Linked DNA regions of Homo sapiens: region 1 is linked to region 2. The links are contacts of gene promoters, found by promoter capture Hi-C in human tissues and cell types (Jung and others, 2019). All regions are on one chromosome and are shown on one strand. Each heading gives the region's core, a stretch centred on a gene start or on the middle of the fragment in contact. The rest is flanking DNA. Distances are from core to core; before and after follow the strand shown. Region 1 holds the start of TIMM44 (translocase of inner mitochondrial membrane 44). Region 2 holds the start of FBN3 (fibrillin 3).

What was found. The method cuts DNA at HindIII sites, captures the fragments that hold promoters and counts their contacts. A contact is called where the count stands out against the background at its distance.
Region 1: the fragment with the promoter of TIMM44 here is called in contact with the fragment with the promoter of FBN3 in region 2 in 1 of the 25 tissues and cell types used here (lymphoblastoid cells).

What each region holds. Positions count from the first base shown.
Region 1 is chr19:7,938,895-7,945,270 of GRCh38, reverse strand. TIMM44 (translocase of inner mitochondrial membrane 44) reads left to right here and starts at 1,605. Exons shown (of 13, transcript NM_006351.4): 1 at 1,605-1,664; 2 at 4,074-4,169. The coding sequence starts at 1,620. RefSeq lists enhancers at 411-953, 954-1,497, 1,502-1,871, 1,498-2,040, 2,041-2,584 and a silencer at 1,402-1,471. The HindIII fragment of the contact is 7,251 bases long and covers 1-2,609 here.
Region 2 is chr19:8,146,708-8,152,627 of GRCh38, reverse strand. It overlaps FBN3 (fibrillin 3), which reads left to right and starts at 3,036. Exons shown (of 64, transcript NM_032447.5): 1 at 3,036-3,179; 2 at 5,131-5,314; 3 at 5,442-5,524. The coding sequence starts at 5,148. RefSeq lists enhancers at 3,879-4,849, 4,850-5,821. The HindIII fragment of the contact is 21,800 bases long and covers 1-4,139 here.

The DNA of each region.
Region 1 (6,376 bases), core at 356-2,855, 210 kb after region 2:
TCTTTCTTTCTTCTTCTTTTTTTTTGACACAAGGTCTCTCTCTGTTGCCCAGGTAGTGTAGTGTAGTGTAGTGTAGTGTAGTGGCACGATCACGGCTCACTACAGCCTTAACTTCCCGGGCCTCAACGATCCTCCCATCTCAGCCTCCTGAGTAGCTGGGACTACAAGCACATGCTACCACGCCAAGCTAATGTTTTGTATTTGTTGTAAAGAAGAGGTCTTCACTATGTTGCCCAGGCTGGTCTCAAACTCTTGGGCTGGAGAGATCCTCCCGCCTCAGTGTCCCAAAGTGCTGGGATTATAGGCATGAGCCACCGCGCCCGGCCAAACTCCGTACTTTCAACCACAACTAAGAATCCATATTTCTAGCCCAGACCTTATTCTTAGCAACACACCTGTGTACACCAACCGCTTAACTAGTTTGCTCCTCTTGGCATCAAGACATCTCGAACAAAGCCAGAGTGGAAGCCCTCATCTCTTACCCCCACCTTGAGGGGGAGCTCCTGAGATGGAGAACACAAGTCTATCCATCGCAGAAGCCAGGAATGCATGCTCTCCGGGGCCAAGCTGCCTCCCTTTGAAATAATGAAGTCCCATAAACCCATATCACAGGTTAGTAATGCAAAAAGACCGGGTGCGGTAGCTCACGCCTGTAATCCCAGTGACTCAGAGGCTGAGGCAGGAGGATCGCTTGAGCTTGGGAATTGGAGGCTGCAGTGAGCTAGATTACGACACTGCACTCTAGCCTGGGTGACAGAGCAAGCCTCTGGCTCTATAAAAAAAAAAAAGGATCCAATAAGACAAACAGCAACAGCAACATACATTAGCTCTCCCAGGGGACCAACCCTCCTCCTCATACCCGGATTGCATGGCCATGTTAAAATACCGCCACCTGGTGGCGGCATTCTTCGAATGGAAAATAGCATCTGGGGTGCTGAAATGACAAAGGCCTGAGCGTCTTCAGATCAGAGTGTCAGTTCACACTGAATCGAAGTAGGACTGGACCACAGTCAGCCCGCTCTCAGCTTCCTCTTCTTATTCGGGGTCAAAACCAACAGGCGTCTTCCCAAAGCGCCGCACAAGAGTGGGCTCCTTCGCTTTCTCGGAGCGACTCACTTGCTGGTCTCTCAGCCATTGTCAATCAATCAGTCATTGCAGGGGCAGCCATAGACAATTACTCTGGAGCTGGTCCGCCGGTCAATCAGAATCCAATCGAATCCGTCCTTGTGGTCGGTGGATCCACGTGCCTGTACCACCTGCCACCAGCGCCCGGCGCGTTCTGTAGCCGAATCACCGCAAGTGACGGAATACACGCCCCTGGGCTCCGCCCCCTCGTAGTCGCGCCCAATCACAGATCTGACCCTCCCAGGAGTGCCCTCCCCCGGGCCACATCCAGTCACGGGCCCCGTCCTTCCAAAACACTGCCCTATCAGAGGTCAAGCTCTCTAGGCATTCCCTACCCTTTTAATGCCCCGCCCTATGACGGACCCAATCGGAGGGCTCTCCCTACCCGAAACCCCGCTCCTGGAGCGGCTTTTCTCAGGCTTGCGCGGCTCTAGGCCGAAGCGGCGGATGACGCAACCGGGCCGCGCCGCGAGAAGGTCACACGATTCTCCAACATGGCGGCGGCGGCCCTGCGGAGTGGCTGGTGCCGCTGTCCACGGGTGAGCGGCGGTGCGGCGCTGGCAGGGCGAGCTTAGGGGTCTTCTGGGCCTTCGGCCACCAAGGCTTTCTTCTCAGACCCTTGGCCTTCGCGACCCTTGCTTGGGCTCCTTAGAAAGCTTGGGGTTAGATCTTTGGGTAGCAGAGGCCAGGACAGGGGGCACAGAGCGTGGCCTGAGGGCGGGGACCGAGCTTACCGGGCAGGGGGCGGCGATGCGCGGGACCTGGGAGGGAGCTGATCACCCTTCGCCCTCTGATCAGACTCCACGTATACAGGAGAGAGAATGGTAGCCGGGGCGGCGGCGTCCCGTGGAAAAAAGTAGAGGGGAAGGCAAAAAAACGTGAAATTCACAGCTCGCGGTTAAATGCCAAGTTCTCTACCGAGAGCATTTCTTGTCTCGTTTCTTCTAACGTTCATTGTGGATGTGCGAGAGGTGGTTCGCGCCCTAGCAGGCTCTTGGGTCCACAGGGCAGTGGCAGTCAAGACGTGTAAGGCGCACTCAGAAAGTAGTACTTCATATTGCTCGTGCTCTTCGTTTTTTCTTTTTTCTCTTTTTTTTTTTTTTTTGAGACAGAGTTTCGCTCTTGTCGCCCAGTCTGGAGTGCAATGGCGCGATCTCGGCTCACTGCAACTTCTGCCTCCTTCTGCCTCCGGGTTCAAGCGATTCTCCTGCCTCAGCCTCAGGTGGATCACCTGAGGTCAGGAGTTCGAGATCCACTGGCCCACATGGTGAAATCCCATCTCTACTAAAACCCCATCTGTACTAAAAATACAAAAAAATTAGCCGGGCATGGTGGCGCGCTCCTGTAATCCCAACTACTTGGGAGGCTGAGGCAGGAGAATCACTTGAACCCGGCAGGCGGAGATTGCAGTGAGCCGAGATCCTGCCACTTTACTCCAGCCTGGGCAACAGAGGGAGACTCCGTCTCAAAAAAAAAAAAAAAAGTTATCCTCAAGTAAATACAGGAGATAGTAGGCACCTGTGTAAGTTTGGGATGTTGCATAGGGTTCTCAGAGGTAGGAGGCAGAGAACAGAGAGAAAAACGGCCCAGGAAATGTGGAAATGGTGGAGAAGTTGTACCTGGTCTTTTGACATCAACACGCCAGGTTCTGTGCTGGGTGACAGGGTGCCGAGCTGAACAGGACCTGCACAGAGCTTTTTTTTTTTCCCCCAATTTTTTATGGAGGCAGGGTCTAGCTATGTTGCCCAGGCTGGTCTCAAACTCCTGAGCTCAAACGATCCTTCCGCCTCAGCCTCCCAAAGTATCGGGATTACAGGCATGAGCCACCAGCTCAGTGCCTGCACAGAACTTAAGGCAAGATCTCGGCTCACTGCACCCTCCACCTCCCGGGTTTAAGCAATACTACAGGTGTGTGGGACTACAGGTGTGTGCCACCACGCCCGGCTAATTTTTGTATTTTTGGTAGAGACGGGATTTCACCATGTTGGCCAGGCTGATCTCGAACTCCTGACCGGGTGATCCTCCCACCTCAGCCTCCCAACGTGTTGGGATTACTGGCGTGAGCCACCGCGCCCAGCCAGCAAGTGCCTTTTACATGAGATCAGCCCAGTCTTTGCCCAGAGCGACTCCCCTAAATTACTCTGTTTATAGCTCAACCCTTGAGGAGGACATTGTAGGTTTATTCCAGAGTTGTCCCTGGGGCAACACATTATCGATGTTTGTGTCTGAAAAATCCAGTTCTCTCATCTTTGGAGGCTGGCAGAAATGGGGTGGGCTCGCAAGAGAAGACTGCTTGCCACTAGCATAGAAGCTTAGAGTGCCTACTTTCAGACTAAGGGATTAAATTGTACATTTAGCCTTCTTCCCCCCATGGGTTGGCATTTCCTGGGACCTGTCCGTTTTCCCCCAGTTTCAGGGGCACGAGGATAGATGTAGGCCCTGGAGGTACAGACACAGCATTTTCTCTTTCCACCAGCTTCTGCTTGCTTCTCAGACTTTGGGAAGATTACAGAGTGCCCGGCATGCATCAGGCATAAGATACAAATTGGCCAGTGAGGCCAGGTGCAGTGGCTCATGCCTGTAATCCCAGCACTTTGGAAAACCGGGGGAGGGGTGGATCACCTGAGGTCAGGAGTTCGAGACCAGCCTGGCCAACATGGCAAAACCGCTTCTCTCCTAAAAATACAAATATTAGCCGGATGTGATGGCGCATACCTGTAATTCCAGCTACTCGGGAGACTGAGGCAGGAGAATCGCTTGAACCCAGGAGGCATAGGTTGCAGGGAGCTGAGATCGCAGCACTGCACTCTAGCCTGAGACTCCGTCTCAAAAAAAAAAAAAAAATGGCCAGTGAGTTGCAGGTGACCCTGCTGTTTTGTGTGTGGTCTGCTTACTTCTCAGTCAACCTCTTGTTAGAATGGATCTTTCTCTTCTCTCCCCCCAATTAGAGATGCCTCGGCAGTGGAATCCAATTTCTTTCCAGCCACAACCTACCCCATGGGTCGACCTATCAGATGCGCCGGCCGGGCGGAGAGCTGCCACTGGTGAGTGACTCAGGATGCTCGGGCCAGCAGACACAGGGGAGGCCCGAAAATTCAGATCCCATTGGCAGGAGGGAGGGGTGGGGCTGTAGAGGTGGCTCGTACCATCTCGGTGGTGGGCCTTCTGTGTCCGGGGCTTTCAGAATGACAGATCCCAGTGTGCCTGGCCTTCTCGGTCCCAGAAACACTTGACCTGCCTCTTGCTTGATGTCGTAAGGGGATAAGGTGCTGTCAGAATAGCCCTTTATGTTGGCTCTAATGCTTGGAAGAGACCCCTGTATTGAACTGAATTCTACTTCCCTGTGACCTCTGCCCGTGGGTACCTCACCAAGCATAGCTGTTTCCTTTTCTAGAAGATAGCCCTTTGATCATTGGTACAGAGTCACCTTGTCACAACCAGACCTCAGTTTCTCCTGGTCATTCCTCTTCAACTGTGCTTCTGTTGGTGTCTCAGCATCGTGAGGACAGAAGCCCAAAACCTGACTCCCTTCCCCAGACCTGTACATTCGGGCAGCGCGTACATTCTGTCTCCCTCTCTCTCTGCGCCCAGAGCCTCAGCTCAGCTGCCTCCTTGGAGGCAGCTACCTACCTCTCCAGTCCTGTCCTGGGGCCATCGTGGGTGTGGGACAGGACCTGTGACTCTTTCCCTTTCTTGTCTAGTCCCCCGCCACACACTCACTCCCATGGTTTGTAGCCCAAGAGTCTCTGGTAGGGCTGCGATAAGGTTGTGTGGTCCTGGATGATTTTACTTAGAACCTGGGTTTCCCCTGGAGAAAGGCTGGCCAGGGTGGCATCTGAATGGGACTGCAGCCTGCTGACAGGAGGCCTGGCCACCTGTCCTGGGGAGCAGCACTGGGCTTTTTTTTTTTTTTAAGATAGGGTCTCACTCTGTGGCCCAGGCTGGGGTGCAGTGGCACTATCACGGCTCACTGCAGCCTTGAACTCCTGGGCTTAAGCGATCCTCCCACCTCAGCCTTCTGAGTAGCTGGGACCACAGGTGTGTGACTCCACGGGGCCTGAGCACCAGGCTGGATGCAGCTTTCTCTTGTAGCTTGACAGGAGCCAGGGAGGGGGATCCCACCTGGAGCTGGTATACCCAACACAGCTGTGGAAAAGTTGACCACAGGCGGCCCCTTCCGCCTGATTGGATTATTGTATGATCATTCATTAAACTGTTTCTCTGTTGTTTTTTTGAAACAGAGTCTCACTCTGTCGCCCAGGCTGGAGTGCAGGGGCGAGATACCGCTCACTGCAACCTCCACCTCCCGAGTTCAAGCAGTTCTCCTGCCTCTGCCTCAGTAGCTGGGACTACAGGCAGGCGCCGCCACACCTGGCTAATTTTTGTATTTTTAGTAGAGACAAGGTTTCACCATGTTGGCCAGGCTTGTCTCGGACTCCTGGCCTCAAGTGATCCGCCCACCTCGGTCTCCCAAAGTGCTAGGATTACAGATATGAGCCACTGTGTCCAGCCTGCTTTTTTTTTTTTTTTTTTGAGATGGAGTCTCATTCCATCACCCAGGCTGGAGTGCAGTGGCACAATCTTGGCTCACTGCAACCTCCGGCTCCTGGGTTCAAGTGATTCTCCTGCCTCAGCCTCCTGAGTAGCTGGCATTACAGGCACCCACCACCACGCCCAGCTAATTTTTGTATTTTTAGTAGAGACGGGGGTTTCACTATGTTGGTCAGGCTGGTCTGGAACTCCTGACCTCAAGTGATCCACCCACCTTGGCCTCCCAAAGTGCTGAGATTACAGGCAGGAGCCACTGCGCCCGGCCTTGTTTTGCTTTCACAAGGCTTTATCTTTTGAGCAGTTTTAGGTTTACAGAAAAATCCAACAGAATGTCCAAAGAGTTGCCATGCCCCTCCTCTCCCATCTGGCACACAGTTTTCTATTCTTCACGTCCTGCATTAGTGTGGAGCATCTGTCACAATTGACAGGATGTTGATACATTATTATTAATAAATGCATGGTTTACCTTCCGGTTCCCTCTTGGTGGTGTACATTCTCTGTGATTACAGTATCATAAGAGTAGTTTCACTGCCCTAACATTTTTCTGTGTTCCCCCCTACTCATCTCACCCTCTTCCTACCAAACCCCTGGCAACCACTGATCTTTTACTGTCCCCTTAGTTTTGCCTTTTCCAGAACGGTCTATAGTTGGAATCAGACAGTATGTAGCCTTTTCAGATTGGCTTCTTTCACTTAGTGCA
Region 2 (5,920 bases), core at 1,787-4,286:
TACTGGAGTGCAGTGGCACCATCTCGGCTCACTGCAAGCTCTGCCTCCCGGGTTCACACCATTCTCCTGCCTCAGCCTCCCGAGTAGCTGGAACTGCAGGCGCCCACCACCATGCCCAGCTAATTTTTTGTATTTTTAGTAGAGACGGGGTTTCACCATGTTAGCCAGGATGGTTTTGATCTCCTGAGCTCGTGATCCGCCCGCCTCAGCCTCCCAAAGTGCTGGGATTACAGGTGTGACCCACCGCGCCCAGCAATTTTTTATATTTTTAGTAGAGATGGGGTTTCACTGTGTTAGCCAGGATGGTCTTGATCTCCTGACCTCGTGATATGCCCAACTCGGCCTCCCAAAGCGTTGGGATTACAGGCGTGAGCCACCATGCCCAGCCTAAATGTCCCTTCTTAACAGTGTGATGTAATAAGGGTACAGTGGGGGGTGACACTGTCTGTGATACCACATCAATAACTGGCAATAACATAACAGACCAGGGTGGCACCATGGGAAGTCTGAAACTACAGCACGCGGTGTGGACAGTAGCTTGGGTTGGGGGCTGTGAACAACCAATGCCCACTATCTGCCGTTTTCGAGCACTTCAGTTGCGGTGACTTCCAACAGCTCCACATCCTGGTCTTGCCACACCCTCCGGCTTCCTTCTCCCCTCTCTTCTGGAGGGCAGGTAGGGAGACTTCTAGGACTGAGTCGCTCCCTGGCCCACAGTTCTTCCAGGAAAGCCCTCCTCCAGACTTAGCCATGGCAACAGTGGCTGTGCAGTGTCCCTGGGATGGGACAATCTCTCCCCACCTTTTGCACCTATGCTGGGCTGCTTCTAGGGCACCCGGTGCTTGTCCCCGTGCCCATGTAAGATTCATTTGTTGCAGAACAAATCTGGGTGGACCTTGGCAGAGGAGCCTGGAAAGAGGTGTCCAAGGTGGCCGGGGAAACTGGTTTGTCCACAATAGCCCCTGGGCCCACCCTCCAACAGGAACCCCACCCCCCTGTCTCTGCTGGGCCACCTCCATCCTGGGGTTCCCTCCCCAGTCCACCCTCCCCATGCCCCAGCACCCCACCTGACCCTTCTCACAGGGTCCACGGGCCCCTCCCTTGGCCAGGATGACTGGATCTTGTCCCTGAAGTCGGCGTCTGTCCCATGCTCCCCGAGCCCAGCCCTGGGGCCCTCAATGCTCCCCGGACACAGTCTAAGACCTGGAAGTGGAGCCTTGGGAGAACCTCCCCTTTCTGTGAGTCCACCGTGTCTCCCCTCAGAGGTGGGGGGGGAGCCTGCTGAGGGCTCCTCGGTGCTTCTAGCCTCTTCTTATGTTTCCTGCTTTCCTCTTGCTCCCTCCCCTTCTCCTCTCTCCTAAAGTTCCAACCTCACTCCATCCAGGCATGTTTGTTCTAAGTTCTCTCCTTCTCCAGGCCTTTGCCTGTTCTGTTTCCTCCAGCAAACTCCTATGCAACTGTCAAAACCTACTTCAAAAATCCCCTTCTGGGCCAGACTCGGTGGCTCACGCCTGTAATCTCAGCACTTTGGGAGGCCGAGGCAGGTGGATCACGATGTTAGGAGTTCGAGACCAGCCTGGCCAACATGGTGAATCCCCGTCTCTACTAAAGATACAAAAAATTTACCGGGCATGATGGCACAAGCCCGTAATCCCAGCTACTCGGAAGGCTGAAGCAGGAGAATTGCTTGAACCTGGGAGGTGGAGGTTGTAGTGAGCCAAGATCGTGCCATTGCACTCCAGCCTGGGTGACAGGGCAAGACTTTGTCTCAAAAAACAAACAAAACAAAACATAAACAAAATCCTCTCCCTCCCTGCAAATTGTGAGTTTACCCTATTGAACTCCCAAAGCTGACTTGCTGAATATACTCCCACCATAGCACTTCCGGAATGGAGACAGGGTCTCCAATTTTTGGAGATAGGGTCTTGCTCAGTTGCCCAGGCTGGAGTGCAGTGGCACAATCATAACTCACTGCAGCCTCAACCTCCTAGGCTGAAGCAGTCCTCCTGCCTCAGCCTCCTGAGTAGCTGGGACTATAGATGCATGCCACCAGGCCTGGCTAATTCTTTTTAATTTTTTTTTTTTTTTTTTTTTTAGAGATGGGGTCTCACTATGTTACCCAGGTTAGTCTCGAACTCCTGGTTTCAAGCCCACTGGGCTTACTTATTTATTAGATTCCGGAAGTACTGTGGTGGGGGGATATTCAGCACAATCAGCTTTGGGAGTTCAATAGAGTAAACTCACAATTTGCGGATAGGGAGGGAATTTTTGAACTGGACTTTGACAGATGCGTAGGAGTTTGCTGGATGGAGTAACAGCTTCAGGCCCAACGCACAGCTTCTGACAGATCCCCATGTTAAGGGTCTATTCTCAAAGGTATGAAGGTAGTGGAAAAGCCTAGAAATTTTTGTTTGGAGTACTGACAACAGATAGGGAGCCAAAATTCTTGTCTGGTCCCTTTGGTAGGTGGACAAACAGGTTCAAAGAGATTTGAAAGTTTACACCGTTTGAATTGTTAACCTCTTCATTTTGAGAACCAGATGAAAAACCTGGGCCCTTCTCCCTGGGAAATACAGCTTTGCCCAATGTTTTGTCAACATATTTAGGGGCCCCTGATCTCAGCCTAGTTAAGAATCCAGGCTCCAAGAGCCAGGTGAGTTTCCAACGTCACTCTCGCAATTCTCCTTGCTCGAGGGAGGGGGTGGCGGCTTGGGAGGCCCTGAGAGGGCCGCCCAGGTGAGTCCCGGGACTTCTCTGCCCAGGCTGTCGTCCAGGCCCTCCAAAAGTCAGAGCCCCACCTCCACCTTAGTCTCGATCCGAAAACGCGGCCCCGGCAGCCCCTACTAGGCGCCCCCAGCCCGCCCTCACATCCCTCCAGTCCATCGGAGTTTTTCACTCGGAGCCCCGGACCCTCCCCCGAGCCGCAGCCTCTCTCCCCGCCCCGGATCGGAGCCCCCCGTCCCCGCCCCGGGAGCTAAGAGGTGCAAACGCGCCCTCCTCCAACTCCTCCCGCCCCCAACTCCCCCCCGAGTGGCAGCTCTGGGCTGGGAACGCGGCGGGGTCGGCCTCTCGGCTTTGCGTTCCCGCCCCGGGTCCCCGGCGCCGCAGGAGCCCGCCCTGCAGCGCTGAGTCCCGCGCGTCCGCCTGCCGTGCCCGCCTCCACGCGCGCCGCCTCGCAGGTAGGTGAAGGCGCGGGGCCAGCGGCGGGGCGAGATCGCGGGCGCTGAAGGGTGGAGAAGGCGGGGGCGGGGGGGCCGGCAGGGGGAGGGGGAGAGGATTCCTTTGTTCGCAGCCGGGCAGCCCCGGGCCCAGCCCCCTCCCCTCTCCGCCTTCTAGTGGCGCCCGCCGCAGTGGGGAGTGGGGGCGCGGGGACCCGGCGGGAGGGGCTCGGCCGGGGCGCGGGGCCCCTGACCCCACAGGTGAGGGCGGAGCCAAGCGTGGTCGCGGCCGGGGGCCCTGCCGGGTGGAGATCGCGCCCCGCGGGCTCCGGGGGCGCCCCCTCCCCGTCGGCGAAGCTTGGTATCCCTCGCTGTTTGGCCCTCAGCCTCCACACCCCGTGCCGGGCGCGCCTTCTCTGCTCATTCATTCCACAAACTCCAGGGTGTGGCTCGCAGAAGCAGCGGTGTGTAGGGGGGACCGAGGCAAATCAGGCCAGAGACTCCCCCCACCTAATTCCCCCACCCGACCCGAGGCAGGGGGCTGGGGCGGAGGGAGTGGGGGAGGAGGGCTTGCAAGCCCCGAGGCTGCTTGGAGTCCACGGAGCCTCAGAGTGCGGACTGACCCGGACAACTGAGAAGAAAAAGAGGGCGCCCCTCTCCAGCCAGCCAACCCTCCAACGTTGACAGGGGTCTCTCCCTTCTCCGGGGCCTTTGGACAACCAGGTTGGCCCAGAGAGGGGCGTGGCCAAGACCACACAGCAGGGCTCCCCGCCCATTCTCCACCTAGGGCCGGTTCCTTTCCTCCCTGGAACCTGAATGGAACAGGAAGGCCACTTGGTCTGGCTTCTCTCCCTCAAGTATTTTGCCTCCACCCTCCAAACGGTCGTCTCCTGTCCCGGTCTTCTCCCTCCCGTCCTTCATGGCCCAGGAAAGACCCAGCCAAGGGGGGCAGGAGCGAGTTCCGTTCCTGATCTTCTTCCCCTCCTTCTTCTCTTCGTGGGCTTAAGCTCCGGCTTAGCCCCTCACTCATGGTGTGATGGCCTTAGTTTGTGCATCTGTGAAATGGGCACAGAAGCGGTCCCTTCCCTGCTGGGCACAGGGTTACTCTCTGCATTGGGAAGTTCCAGCCCCTGCCTGGGCCCCCTGCCCAGGGAGGCATCCAGCCCTGACCTGGGAGCAGTGAACAGTCAGAGGAGGCTTCCTGGAGGAGGTGTGATGTTAGAAAAGGGTCTTGCGGCTAAGGGTGCACAGCCCAGGCAAGACCGGCGTGGGATGTGGAGGCGAGGGGACACAGGGCCAGGTGGGGCCAGGCATTGCAGGAGTGGGGGTATCTGTGTCACAGAGGGACAGTGGGGTTGTTGCCTTCCACGACTTACCATCTTCCTCCTACCCTGGACGCTCTCTGGGCTCCACCGTCCCAGCTAGAACTTTGGGAATCTCCTCAATGCCCTCCACCTCCCACGACATGAGCCTCCCATTCCTCTCCTCTCTCTCCCATCTGGACAGCCCCCAGCCTTCTGACACCCTGTTTCCCCCCCGGGACCCTGCTGCCCTTCCCCACACCACCTAACATGCATTTCTGACCTTGCTCCTCCCACTCAAAGCTTTTCAAGGGCTCTTCATTGTCCTTGACGAATGAGCAAAAGCTGCATGACACTGCTATGCCCACTCCTGCAACGCCTGGCCCCACCTGGCCCCACCTGGCCCTCTCTCCCCTCCCTTCCACTTCCCACTCCCGTCTTGCCTTGGCTGTGCACCCTCAGCCCCAAGACCCTTCTCTAACATCACACCTCCTCCAGGAAGCCTCCTCTGACTGTTCACCGCTTCCCGGTTGGGGCTGGATGCCTCCTTGGGCTCCCAGAGGCCCCGGGGCTGCCCCATTTGGCAACCACCCTGCCCTCCTCGTTGTGTTGGGTCCCCCATGGCTAGGGTGGGGGGCTCATCTAGGGCTGACTCTGCTTCCTCTCCGCAGCCTCCAGGGGACACGCCATGACTCTGGAGGGTCTGTATTTGGCAAGGGGCCCCCTGGCCCGGCTCCTGCTGGCCTGGTCGGCCCTGTTGTGCATGGCAGGTGGCCAAGGCCGCTGGGACGGGGCCTTGGAGGCTGCAGGTCCTGGACGTGTGCGGAGGCGGGGCAGCCCAGGCATCTTGCAGGGGTGCGTGGTACCTGGGATGCTGGGAGACCCCTTCGGTGTGGATTGGGCTGTCCTGGGGCCAGCGGAATACCCGGGGGGATGTCCACACGGGCAGGGGCTCACCAGACCCATCTCGCTGTCCCCGAAGGCCGAATGTGTGCGGCTCCCGGTTCCATGCCTACTGCTGTCCAGGCTGGAGGACATTCCCTGGCAGGAGCCAGTGTGTCGTACGTGAGTGCTACCGCCGTCTGGAGGTGGGGGGGCACAGGCCGGGGACACTCTTACCTGCCTGCAGGTTCAGCTCTGTTTACACGGGGACTTAGCCAGGGACCTCTGGCTGAACCACAGGAATGGCCCTTGCATCTGCGTCTGTCCTCAGGGTTCCAGGCCAACCTGCCATGTTCATTTCCTTTGCCCTACAACCTCCTTGTGTCTGTCTGTCTCTCTGGTTCCCTTGCTTTGTCTCTGCCTCTCTCTATTCATCTCTGCTCATGTCTCTCTCTGTTGGTTTCTTTTCTTTATTATTATTATTTTTAGAGATGGGGGTCTCTGTGTTGCTCAGGCTGGTCTCAAACTCTGGCCTCAAGCGATTTTCCCATCTCAGCCTCCCAAAGTGCTAGGATTCCA